Linked DNA regions of Homo sapiens: regions 1, 2 and 4 are each linked to region 3. Evidence: promoter capture Hi-C in 16 types of primary human blood cells and fetal thymus (Javierre and others, 2016). All regions are on one chromosome and are shown on one strand. Each heading gives the region's core, a stretch centred on a gene start or on the middle of the fragment in contact. The rest is flanking DNA. Distances are from core to core; before and after follow the strand shown. Region 1 has its middle 17 kb from the start of PRDM13. Region 2 has its middle 86 kb from the start of MCHR2-AS1. Region 3 holds the start of SIM1 (SIM bHLH transcription factor 1). Region 4 holds the start of CCNC (cyclin C).

Region 1 (3,159 bases), core at 40-2,539, 840 kb before region 3:
TAGGAGTCTTAATCCAATCTCATTTCTGTGCACTTCTGTCAGCTCATAGGTAATCAACCACGGGTAGAGGTACCACGAAGCTCACTGGCGTGAAATCCTTATATAAGACCTTGATATGGTCTGGCTGTGTTCCAGCCAAATCTCAACTTGAATTGTGTCTGCCAGAATTCCCAAGTGTTGTAGGAGGGACCCAGGGGGAGGTAATTGAATCATGGGGGCCGGTCTTTCCCATGCTATTCTCATGATACTGAATAAGTTTCAAGAGAGCTGATGGTTTATCAGGGGTTTCCGCTTTTGCTTCTTCCTCATTTTTTCTCTTGCTGCTGCCATGTAAGAAGTGCCTTTTGCCTCCCACCATGATTCTGAGGCTTCCTCAGCCATGTGGAACTGTAAGTCCAATTAAACCTCTTTTTCTTCCCAGTCTCAGGTATCAGCAGCATGAAAATGGACAAATACAGACCAGTACCTAATTCTGTGTTTTATTTCTTAAAGTAGATCCCCCAAATTCTATGAATTTCAAAACCAAAAAATCTTGATCTATACTTGTAATCACTTATTTTAGTTTCTTGTATACATCTAGTTTTCTTTTTGTAAATACAAATATCCAAGAATGAATGTATTTTTATTTTCTTCCCTGTCTTAAATATTTAATATTCACTCTTCTGTATCCTGCTTTTTATTCAAATTAATATACTGTGGAGAAATTTTCCATGATAATTCAAAGAGAGCCTCCTCACTTTTTTTTTCTTTTATTGCTACATAGTACTCTATTGTGTAGATGTAGAAAGACAGATTTAACCAATTCTCCTGTTGATGACCTTTGGGTTGTTTTCAATCTTTTATTACCTTAAAGACACTTCAATGAATAACTTGTGTTAAGTGATTTTGTAGGTGGGCTGCAGGTGTGTTTCATAAGGTGCTACTGCTTTGATTGCAGTGAGGAAAGAGCTATTGAGGATGCTGAGCTGGCCAGGACAGTGTCAGAATCAGACCAGCGTCTGGGAGAGGGATGATTGGCTGACTGTTCAACTGGTCCTTCTCTCCATAGTTGGAAAACTCAGAGTTACCTTTAGCTCTTGATCATACTCTGTACATAGGGAGACAACAATGGGGCCTCCACCCCATTCTTTTGTTCTCTTGGGAATTTGGCAAAGGATCCTTGGGAGGCCTTAGCTATAGAACTGTACCTCTCCAGGCCTAGCAATATAGAAATCCTAATGTTGGGCTCACATGGGAAAAGAGTATGTTTGCATGCACATGCATTTGAACTTTTAGTTTTTTCCTGTGAACACTATCACCAAATTTTGATTTCCCAATGATGCATATTATTTAAAAATACCTTATGTAAAACCGTCTTTGGGATTATGATTCAGACTTGTAACTGGATGACTAGAGCCTGAGCCTATGGTAAGTAGCAGGTACTGAGCACAACCCACACCAGCTGTAGAATAGTGACAAGCACTCCAGTAGGGAAAAAAACAAATGCAAATGAGATGTACTTGGCCATGGAACAAAGATGAAAATGACATTCACTTGTAAATGAGTTTTCTGTGTTTGATGTAAACAGAATGACATGTATTTTGCAGGAAGACCTCTATGACCTTCGGACAGTTGTTGAGTTCATTACATGTAGCTGCACATGTTTCTGACATTTCATTATTATTAATGTATCTCATGATCTAACCGTCTCTAGGTTTTTAATTTATTTAGAAGCATTTCCACAATTTTCTGTCCTAGGAGATGATCTTAGAGTTAAGGTGAGATGCTCATCATTGAAAGGTTAAATGCCCTGGAACACAGCTTGAATCTGACACTTTGCTCTTGGATAAGGAAACAGCTGATCTGATAGAATTCAAGAGCAAGAGGAAGACAATCAACTTCTCAGCTTTGCCATTTATAGCTAACCATGGTCCCCAGCCTAAGCATTTGCTCAAACATTAGATTTAGATTATTGATATGTGGCTTTGCTTTCTGAGCCTTGTACATCTTTCGACCCCATTTAAAATCTTCTCTTTTCTCTATAGCCTTCCCTGACTGTCCCAGCCCAAAACTTTAATACATACATTAGACATAGTAGATACTCAACAAATAGTTGAGAATTAGTTGATTAAACATTCTTTATTTCTTACTCTGAACATTGATGAAGCACTGAGAGCCCACTACATGCCAGGCACAGCACTGGCTGGGGACATATGGATGATTAAGATGGTCTCAAGCCAGGTGCAGTGGCTCACGTCTGTAATCCCAGCACTTTGGGAGGCCAAGATGGGCTGATCCATTGAGCTCAGGAGTGTGAGACCAGCCTGGGCAACATGGCAAGAACCCATCTTTATCAAAAATAGAAAAAGTCGGGCATGGTTGTGTGTGCCTGTGGTGCCAGCTACTCAGGAGGCTGAGGTGGGAGGATTGCTTCAGCCCAGGAGGCAGAGGTCTCACTCTAGCCTGGGTGGCAGAGTGAGACCCTGTCTAAAAACAAAACAAAACACAAAACAAAACAGAAAGATTGTCTCAAGCTCATGGTCTAGTGGAGAAGGCAAACATAAGAACAGAAATTGATAACACAATGTGGTGGGTATAGTGATGGAGATGAACACAGAGGAAGGGTACCTTCTTAGAGAGAGAAGGGTGAGGGCAGGGAAGGAGTTATATAGGAAAAGGCCTCCTGGAGGATGCAACACCTGAGCTGAGTCTTAAACAAGATGGGTAAGAGTCATCTAGGTCATGGTTAAAAGGAGAAGGAAGGACATTTCCAAGAGACAGAATAGCATGAGCATAGTGAGTGGGGAAGCAGCACGAATGTATATGAGGAATTCCAGGCATTACAGTGTTGCTATGGGGCAGAATGGCAAACAGGCAGTATTGCTGAGAGATGAAGATCCACCTGTGAGGAAGTGTGATGCAGTGGTTAAGAGAGTATGTGGGCTTTGGAGTTCAGTAGAGCTGAGTTTGCATCCTGCCTCTGCATCTTTCTACCTGTGAGAACTTGGTGAAACTACTTAACCTCTATATGCTTCAGTTTACTCATCTGTAAAATGGGAACAACAATGGCATTGTATTTAAAACATTCTTATGAGGGGTAATTGAAGTAATGTTTGCAAACTGCTTAACTCAGGTAAACATTAAAAGCATGTTGGCCAATTGTTATTGAGAGACTGGAGA
Region 2 (3,247 bases), core at 419-2,918, 560 kb before region 3:
CCTTCTTCCATTGTTCTACAGAAATCTAGATGACAGTCTGTTTTCTGTCACCATCCAGCATTGAGAATCCCCAGAGGCCATTCAGGCATTTGTCTATGTTGGCACTGGGACATTTCCTCAAGTCAAAATGGAGAATTTCTGCCCATTTGCTTTCACTTTTTCAAAATGACTGGCCAGTTTTGTTGAAATAGCCTGACCTTATACTTTAATAATCACCTACACAGAAATTAACTACTGTCCCTGTTTCCTCAACTTAGGAGTTCTAAAAATCAGTATAGGCCGGGCAGGGTGGCTCACGCCTATAGTCCCAGCACTTTGGGAGGCTGAGGTGGGCGGATCACTTGAGGCCAGGAGTTCAAGACTAGTATGGCCAACATGGCAATCCCCCGTCTCTACTAAACATACAAAAGTTAGCTGGGTGTGGTGGCGCACGCTTGTAGTCCCAGCTACTCGGGAGGCTGAGGCATGAGAATAACTTGAATCTGGGAGGTGGAGGTTGTAGTGAGCTGAGATCATGCCACTGCACTTTGGCCTGGGTGATAAACTGAGACCCTGTTTCAAAAAATAAAATAAAATAAAATCAGTATAGCTCATACTGCACTACATGATTTTTATAACTTAAATTCTGGTTTCATTTTTAAAGAGCACTTGGTATTCAAAATCTCACACTGTTTCATAAACCTTTCAGCACAAATCTGTACAGGGCAGTGACATGCTGTTTTGATTGTGTCTCAGCTCATTTATTTAAAAGGCCTGAAAGTTTGTTTCAGCAGATTTCCTGCAGGTGTGTCTGATTACCTGGGCTCCACTGATTCAGTAAGATAAATGGAAAACTTAGATCTTCATGAAATAGGGGCTTAAGGGAGAAATTCTGCAATGAATTGTCGTAAGAAGGAAAAAGTTCCCCATCTCTAGATATACTTAATCATAGGCTTGCTGACTACTTGTTTGAGACACTTTGGGAAGGAGAGTAATGTAGAATTAGATAGCTTGTAAGGTCTCAGCCCATTGAGAAATTCTATGAGTTTAAATTATGTGAAAAGATTGTCATATTTAGCTTTCAGATCTATTGAATTTTCAGTGACAGGCATATGGGCTGGCACCCAATATAGTAAGTTATCATTTGCGAAGTCTGGGTTCAGTATGGTAGCAACTTCAGAAAATCCTTTGCTGAATTTGTTCTTCAGCTTAAAAACTTCAGTCACTATTCTTTAGCCTTTTTCTTCTTCCTTTTCCTGGGGTGTCAAGCTCTACATTTGCAGAAAAATTGTTAACGTTTAAATATTAGGGAATCCAGATAACATCAGGCATAAGCATTCTTTGAAGAATCTCTAATGGTTCTTAATCATTTTGGAATCACGGATGCTTTTGGACCCTGCCCAGAACAGTGCACATTGAATTTTACAGGCTTAGAGGATTCACCCCAGATTAAGAATCCTTGTAATGAGCAATAGAAATGATCCCTGAAAGTATCGAAGACCCGAAGCCATGAAACTACTAGAATAAAATATTGAGGAAATGATTTAGGACATTGGTCTGGGCAAATACTTTTTAAAATAAGACCTCAAAAGCACAGGCAACCTAAGCAAAAATAGAAAAATGGGATTATATCAAACAATCAACAAAGTGACGAGACAACCCGCAGAATGAGGGAGAAAATATGTGCAAACTACTTGAGGGGATGATGGATACCCGACTCTTCATGATGTGCTTATTTCACATTGCATGCTGTATGAAAATATCTCATGTACCCAATATATATATATACCTACTATGTACCCACAAAAATAAGTAAAATAAAAGTCTAGCGAAAAAATATTTACAAACTATTCACTTGACAAGGGATTAATGATCAGAATATATAAGGAGCTCAAATAACTCTGTAGCAAAAAAAGATCTGATTAAAAAGTGGACAAAAGATCTGGATATTTCTCGAAAGAAGACATACAAATGGCCAAAAGACATATGAAAAAAAACCCAACATCACTAGTCATCAGAGAAATGCAAATCAAAAGTACAGTGAGATATCATCTCATCCCAGTTAAAATGGCTTTAATAAAAGAGACAGGCAATAATGAATGCTAGAAAAGATGTAGAGAAAGGTGAAACCTCATACATTGTGATGGGAATGTAAATTGGTACAGCCACTACGGAGAACAGTATGTAGGTTCCTCAAAAAACTAAAAATAGAACTACCATACGATCCAGCAATTCACTATTGCGTATATATCCAAATGAAAGGAAATTAAGATATCAAAGAGACACTTGCACTCCCAAGTTTATCTCAGCGCTATTCACAATAACCGAAATGTGGAATCAACCCAAGTGCCCATCAATGGATGAATGGGTAAAGAAAATATGGCATATATACACAACGGAGTATTTTTCAGCCATAATAAATGAAATCCTGTCATTTGCTGCAACATGGATAAAACTAAAGGTCATGTTAAGTGAAATAAGCCAACCACAGAAACACACATATTATATGTTCTCCCTTATATATGGGTGCTAAAAAAGTGAATTTCATGAAGATAGAGAGTAGATTAGTGTTTACCAGGGAGTGGGGAAGGTAGAGGTGGGGATAAAGAAGAAAAGTTGATTAATGGGTACAGGTATACAGTTTGATAGATGAAATAAGACCATGTTAGATAGATAAATAGGGTGACTATAGTTTATGATAATCTATTATATATTTCAAAATAGCTAGAAAAGAATTTGAATGGTTCTTGCATAAAAAAGACACAAACATTTAAGGAGATGAATATTCCAACTACACTAATTTGATCTTTACAAATTATATTAATGTATTAAATTATCACATACATCTCAAAACTATGTGCATCTATTAAAAAAAAGAACCTTTGCAAAGAAAAATGTATTCTCTCCAGTGTCTCATATTCTTACTTTTTAGGGACTGCCAGGACACACCAACTAGTCCTCAAGTTATTCTCAAGAGGCATTGAATTTCTTTGTAAATGAAACACATTAATGGAAGTAATAAATACCATATCCCCTGCCCAACAATAACCAAATTATATTTACATTAAAATAATCTGAGAATGGAAAAGGAGTTCATCAAGCATAAAAACTGAGAAAATCACAAAGGAAAAAAGCTGATGGATATGATGTAAAAATATAAAAATAAAAGATGGGGCCAGGTGCGGTGGTTCACGCCTATAATCCCAGCACTTTGGGAGGCCGAGGTGGGTAGATCACTTGAGGTCAGGAGTTTGAGACCCATTTGGTC
Region 3 (3,231 bases), core at 553-3,052:
CGACAGAAATTCTGAGTTCAGTGAGGACCTTAGTGAAGCAGCCGAGCTAAACTTCCCTTTGCAAAATATATATGTAAATATGTATGCATTTCTCTGGTCACTGATGTCGGCTCATTGCCTGGCAAATCCCCGGCCCCTTCTGCCTTTGAAATTCCATCTGGGCAAAGTCACTTACCTTCTGGGAACACCACTCTCATTTTGAGATAGCTGGTCGTGAGTCTGATTATGGATGCTTTGTCCAGCTGCGAGGTGATAGCCGAGGGCAAAGGCAGTAATTTAGCCAGTTCATAAAATTCACTGTTTTCCTTCTCCCTCCTAGTCCGCGCAGCATTTTTGGACTTTTCTTTCATTGTGTCTTGTTCCCCCTTTCTTCTCACAACTTAAGCTCCGCAGATTCATCCAAAACCAAAAATAAACTTTCAATTAGAGATCATATTTGGCAAAAACATAAAACATACTTTGAATAAAGAGGCTGAAGTATTTGCACCAAGAACAGTGTATTGATGGCAGTAAAAGACCAGCGGGGGTGAACGGAAAATATGTTCTTTGAAAATTCGGGATGCAGTATAGGAAAGTTGCTGATCCACCGAATTTGGGCGATCCACCGAATTTGGGCAATCCTGAGGGTCGTTCAGGGTATCAAATGCCAGTGGGACCCCTGAGGAGCCAGCCTTTTCTTCTACTGCCAGCTGCGAACCCTGGTCCTCGGAAAATCGACATAATAATCCCTGACGTTTGCTCTTCAGTCTCGCGGCATTTAAGGTATCTCCGAGCCCCTTTGGGAAGAGCAGGAACCCCAGACAACTCTTTCAAGGCCCTGTGAAGACAACAGCATCAGAGCATAAGAGATCAGCGGCTCCACAAGTACTCACACACTCGTCCCAATTCCAAAAACACGGCCGGAAAGGGCCTCAGTGCGCCTAGCCAGGCGTTTTGGGTTTGTTTTTAAAGAAACGGGTAAATCGGCAGCGAGACAGCCCCCTGCAAATAATGCTGGCATTCCCTCACCCATGCCAGCCGCATCCTCCAGACCCCTGGGAAGTTGCCCAAACAACAAAATACATATTTCTGAAGACCCGCAAGGGATCTTCCGCCGCGGATCCCCGAGTCCGCGCCCAGGCCGGGCGCACGTCCCAGGAAAGCAGGTTTCCGCAAATCAGAATTCCTCCAAGGCGAGGCAGGGGCCTTTCAGCTCCCTACCTTGGCAGATCTGGACCTTGGCTACCTCTTTAACTTGGGTCTCAAGTCTGAGGGATTCCTCAAAAAGTGACACTTACACACCAAGTCTCTCGGGACTCCCAAGGCGACCCAGCGCTCTGGCTGCCCAGCAGGGGCTGCAACAAGCGGGGCCCAGCAGCGCCAGGTTAACAGGTGGCGCGCTCGCGACAGCCCCTCGCAGGCTCCCCCGGGGGTGGGAGGCGCCGCGGCCTCTCCCACACCACCGCGGAGCTGCGGGGCTGCTGGGCGGGCGCGGGGCGTCTTCTGCTTCACCTACCTTCAGTCCCCACAAGCGGCAGAGGTTTCGGGGGCGCCCATCTCTTAACTGTTCTCATGCCTACCGTCCAACCCAGCGACACCGCCGGCCTCTCCGCTTCCCACCGGCAGAGAGGAGCAGAGCATTCCCGGCTCCCTTTTCTGGATCATGAATTGGAGGAGGGGTGCGTGGCAGAAAGAGGAGGATGCAAGCTTTGGGACGAGTGAGGTGATTTTAGAATCCTGGTCCTCCGTAGTTGCTACGAAGCCAGTTCACTATTATTCCTAATTGGAAGCCGAAAACTGCCCCCCGTAACTTCTTTATAGCTTAAGGGTTTAGCTTCAACTTCACTCCGGGGCCGCCTCTCTCCCGCCCTCCCTCAATGCCACTCACAAGCCCCCTCGCCTCCCATTGGCCTGGCGCGGCCAGGGGCGAGGCGCTCATTGGCCAATAGGGCTGAGTGACACGAGTCGGCCCCGAGCCGCCCTCCGCGCGCCCAGGCTCCGGGCTCTGAATCTTACTACCCGCGGGACCGCTGGACTCCTAATGAGCTCAGGGTGCCGGGTCGGCGCTGTCCGGTTGCCGCCGCTGCTCGCGGCCTCCTGGGCCTTCCCGACGTCGTGCGCGACCCGCGCTCCTCGAGCTCCCTGGGGTCGGGTGGTTGAGCGCTCAGTCCAGCGCGGCGGCCCAGCAGAACCGGGAACGTCCGGAGGCAGCGGAGGTCGGGCCTGCGGGTTAGGTCTACCGGCGGAGGAGGCAGGGTTCGCCCAAAGGCCCATCCCGCTGGCAGTCGCTGGCCGACGGCGTGCGCGAGGCCGGTTTGGGGAGTTATTTTCTCTTTCTCGTTTCTCTGAAACCATGGCGACACGGAATTCATTGCCAGAGGAAATAAATACAATAACTGTCTTTAAATTAATCCCAAAGAAGTGCGTCTTTTTCGAAATGGCTTGGGTTTGGGGCTGATTTTTTTCACCGTGGAAACTCGGCCGGGGAGTTTTCCTATGGGGAGCAGCTAGGGGGACACTAGGGGAAAAGCTTACATTTCAGGGCAAAATAGAATGATTGATATAGAGATACATAGCTCCCAACAGTCCTTTATCTTAAACATTAGCCAACTCTTTGTCGGGTTTTGTTTCAGGAAACAAAAGTCCAACATGATTATTCCTTACAGAAAGGATACAGTCTACATGAATGAACTTAACGATGCTCGCGGTTCCCTAATAGGAGCTGTTTAAACAAACGCTCACCAGGACTCTTGCTGACTAATTATCTTTTAGAGACCCTCTAATTTGAACCGCCTTCTCTTTCTCTCATCTGAGAAAACACAACAGGTAGCATCAAGAAAAAGTCAAATTGTCCCAAAAACAATTGTTGTCCTCACGAATCACCCCCTACAGACTCGACTCCCGGCTTGGTTTTGGTACGCCGGTGACCAGATTCGGCTCCTAGAGGTGCGTTTGGAGGGAGTTGTTTCATCTACCATAAAAATCAGTGAGAACACCAGTGACGGGGCACTCATCCTCTCGTTTGTGGCGCTAATTGCCACTGAGAAAATAAATACTTTGAAGAGGGGTGTGTGCCATTCTGCTGATATTCAGAACAACTTTAAGAGTGTTTGTTCAAAAATACAGACATCTGCCACCTCCTTGCCGCCCGATGGCAGTAAGATAGTCGTAGAAGGACAACAGCAGCTTTCTGGTGTTATTTACATATCTGGGCAACACCTGGCTGGAGGAGGTGAAAGTTTTGGATAGAAA
Region 4 (2,962 bases), core at 1-2,500, 900 kb before region 3:
CACACACACACATATATATACACACACACACATATGATCAGTGGTAAAGCTTCTTTAACATGTCATCTCCACAGAATCACTTTATAGCAAGAGGAAAACCTGCTTTTCCTTAAATAGGTTACTGAGTTCATTGTTTCTTTTTTTCTCTTTGCAAAGGGCTAAAAAATGAACATCAGGAACAGATCCTATTCACAGAATCGAAATTTAAATTACTTACTAATGCTTTCTTAGCATAAAAAATTATACCAAGATACCTTGTCAAATTCTGTTCATCTTTCAACTATACAGTGGAAAGCCTACTCAAATGTTCAATTTACCCCATAACGCACCTTCCTGCCTGCTTAAACAAATGTATTTAGGGATAAATGTTTTTAATATTATTCTAGCTCTCACATGGTCACTGACAGAAACAAGAACTTATTCATGAAAAAGGTTAAAGAAACAGGTAAACAAAGTCACTGGAAAAATAGGCCTTTAAAACAAAATATAAAGCACAGGCTAATGAAATGGATAAATTTAGAGGGCACCTGCCCTATACCTTATCAATATAAAACTCCATCTAGACATAAAGTACGCGCAAGAAGCGGTTAGTAGGCAGAAACAAGCCAGACTCTCTCCTCTCCTCATAATATTAAATCCACTCAAGATATACAGTGAATGACAAAAGACCACGACGCCGATCACCCGAAGAAACCCCAGGTAAAAGCACGCCACAACTGTCCTGAACAGGTAGCCTCACAGTCTTGAGCTGAGTCACACTTCCCGTACCTGTGCCCACTCTATCCGACCCCCCGCGGCCTAGCTAAACCAAGAATCCGAAATTAAACTCCGAAACGTTCCTTCCCGGGAGACGAAACTCTCTCCCACCCCTCCCCCTCACAGATCCTTCCCTCCCCGAAACTGGGGCTGGGGGCGGGGAGGGGAGTCGCCTCAGAAAAGCGCATCTTGATTCTGACCGCTGCGGTCTCCCGTGAGGACCCCGGCACTCGGAACTGAGCTGGGATCCAGGCCCAGGGGAGTCACAGGCCCCGTCCTCACAGCTCCCCCAAAAACCGGCCCCAGGTGAGAAGACGGAAGATCGCTTACTAGTGGGAGCTCTGCCAAAAGTTCCCTGCCATGGAACACAGCTTGCCCTGATAAAAAAGCACCAGCCGGCGGAGCGGCCCGCGGAGCGACCATAGACCCAGCCCGTCCGGTAACCGCGCTCCTCGATCAAATCAGCTCGGCTCGACTCCGCTCCGCGGCGGCGACGGCGAAAGGAAGAGGATGGCCCCCTAGTCTCCTTCACGCCGGCCGACAACACTCAACTGTGCAAACCCGTTCCTATCGACAAAAGTTCCGGCCCGCGGTAGCGGAGGGAGCCGGAGGGGAGGTGCTGACCCTTGGAGGTGCTGAGATTGAAGAGAACTAGTGTTCACGAGAGCTCGCGGCGGTTGGAAGGCTCTCGCGAGAGCGTCTTGAGAATTCTGGCCGGGGGCCCAAGCCGCTCGGTCTCCTGTCTTCAGCACGGGAGTTGCTGAGTGGGTCTAACCTAGGCGAAGTGGCTCAGATACGGGGTTCTGTTATTACCTCTTCCAGGACTTCAAAAACAGAACAATGTGGCATTGTAATAAAGTACAAGGTTTTGTGACTTATTTTTCCTGTGATTGGAAAGAGAAATAAATGAAGATGACTTTGTTCTCAGGGATCAAGTGTTCCTTTTTTTTTTTTACTTTATTTATTTATTTATTTTGAGACGGAGTCTTGCTCTGTCTCCAGGCTGGAGTGCAGTGGCACGATCCCGGCTCACTGCAAGCTCCGCCTCCAGGAGTTCAAGCGATTCTCCTGCCTCAGCCTCCCGAGTAGCTGGGACTGCAGGCGCGCACCACCATGCCCAGCTAATTTTTGTATTTTTAGTAGAGATAGGGTTTCACCATGTTGGCCAGGATAGTCTCAAACTCCTGACCTCGTGATCCGCCCTCCTCAACCTCCCAAAGTGCTGGGATTACAGGCGTAAGCCACCGCACCCTGCCTGTTTTTTACTTTTGAGACGGAGTCTGGGTCTGTCACCCAGGATGGAATGCAGTGGCACAATCTCGGCTCACAGCAACCTCTGCCTTTCCAGTTCAAATGATTCTGCTGCCTCAGCCTCCCAGGTAGCTGGGATTACAGGGATTACAGGCGCGTGCCACCACGTCCATCTAATCTTTGTATTTTTAGTGGAGAGGGGATTTCGCTAGGCTGGTCTGGAACTCCTAACCTCAGGTGATCCGTCAGCCTCAGCCTCCCAAAATGCTGGGATTAACAGGCGTGGGCTACCAGGCCCGGCCTGGATCAGGCGGTTTTTTTTTTTTTTTTTTTTTGAGACGGAGTCTTGCTCTGTCGCCCAGGTTGGAGTGCAGTGGCGCTATCTAGGCTCATTGCAACCTCTGCCTCCCAGGTTCAAGCGATTCTCCTGCCTCAGCCTCCCAAGTAGCTGGGACTACAGGCTCACACCACCACGCCCAGCTAATTTTTGTATTTTTAGTAGAGACAGGGTTTCACCATGTTGGCCAGGATGGTCTCCATTTCCTGACCTCGTGATCCGCCCACCTCGGCCTCCCAAAGTGCTGGGATTACAGGCGTGAGCAACCGCGCCCGGCCGCGATCTTTTTTTTTTTTTTTTTTGAGACGGAGTCTCGCTCTGTCGCCCAGGCTGGAGTGCAGTGGCGAGATCTCGGCCGCGATCTTAATGGAGTTATTTTGGAGTGATAAAGTGCAAACTTACAGAGCAGCGGAATCAACAGTTTTGCAGAACATCTAAAAATATTCATGCATATATGTATGCACATGTATGTACATGTATGCACCTAATAGAAACATACTGCAAAAAAAGCCATAATTTAATTTTACAAGACGAAATATTTTGTATTTTCCATTTCATTTTCATTGTAGCAATGCATTTATTGTAAAACTTATAATTATTTTTCTAAATAATTGGACA

The links. Contacts are between HindIII fragments. The CHiCAGO score rates a contact against its expected background, and 5 or more counts as called.
Region 1: a fragment that was not itself captured here is called in contact with the fragment with the promoter of SIM1 in region 3 in 3 of 17 cell types (naive B cells, total B cells and fetal thymus); the score reaches 9.7 in naive B cells.
Region 2: a fragment that was not itself captured here is called in contact with the fragment with the promoter of SIM1 in region 3 in 1 of 17 cell types (M2 macrophages); the score reaches 5.1 in M2 macrophages.
Region 4: the fragment with the promoter of CCNC here is called in contact with the fragment with the promoter of SIM1 in region 3 in 5 of 17 cell types (total B cells, monocytes, naive B cells and 2 more); the score reaches 11.0 in total B cells.

Annotation. Positions count from the first base shown.
Region 1 is chr6:99,621,938-99,625,096 of GRCh38, forward strand. No RefSeq gene overlaps it. Among named protein-coding and RNA genes, the nearest start is that of PRDM13, 17 kb to the left of the region's middle. The HindIII fragment of the contact is 5,828 bases long and covers 1-3,159 here.
Region 2 is chr6:99,905,933-99,909,179 of GRCh38, forward strand. No RefSeq gene overlaps it. Among named protein-coding and RNA genes, the nearest start is that of MCHR2-AS1, 86 kb to the right of the region's middle. The HindIII fragment of the contact is 8,733 bases long and covers 1-3,247 here.
Region 3 is chr6:100,463,119-100,466,349 of GRCh38, forward strand. It overlaps SIM1 (SIM bHLH transcription factor 1), which reads right to left and starts at 1,803. Exons shown (of 12, transcript NM_005068.3): 1 at 1,496-1,803; 2 at 176-817. The coding sequence starts at 350. The HindIII fragment of the contact is 823 bases long and covers 1,685-2,507 here.
Region 4 is chr6:99,567,410-99,570,371 of GRCh38, forward strand. CCNC (cyclin C) reads right to left here and starts at 1,251. Exons shown (of 12, transcript NM_005190.4): 1 at 1,087-1,251. The coding sequence starts at 1,118. It also overlaps the pseudogene TSTD3. RefSeq lists enhancers at 949-1,028, 1,149-1,438, 1,559-1,608. The HindIII fragment of the contact is 11,578 bases long and covers 48-2,962 here.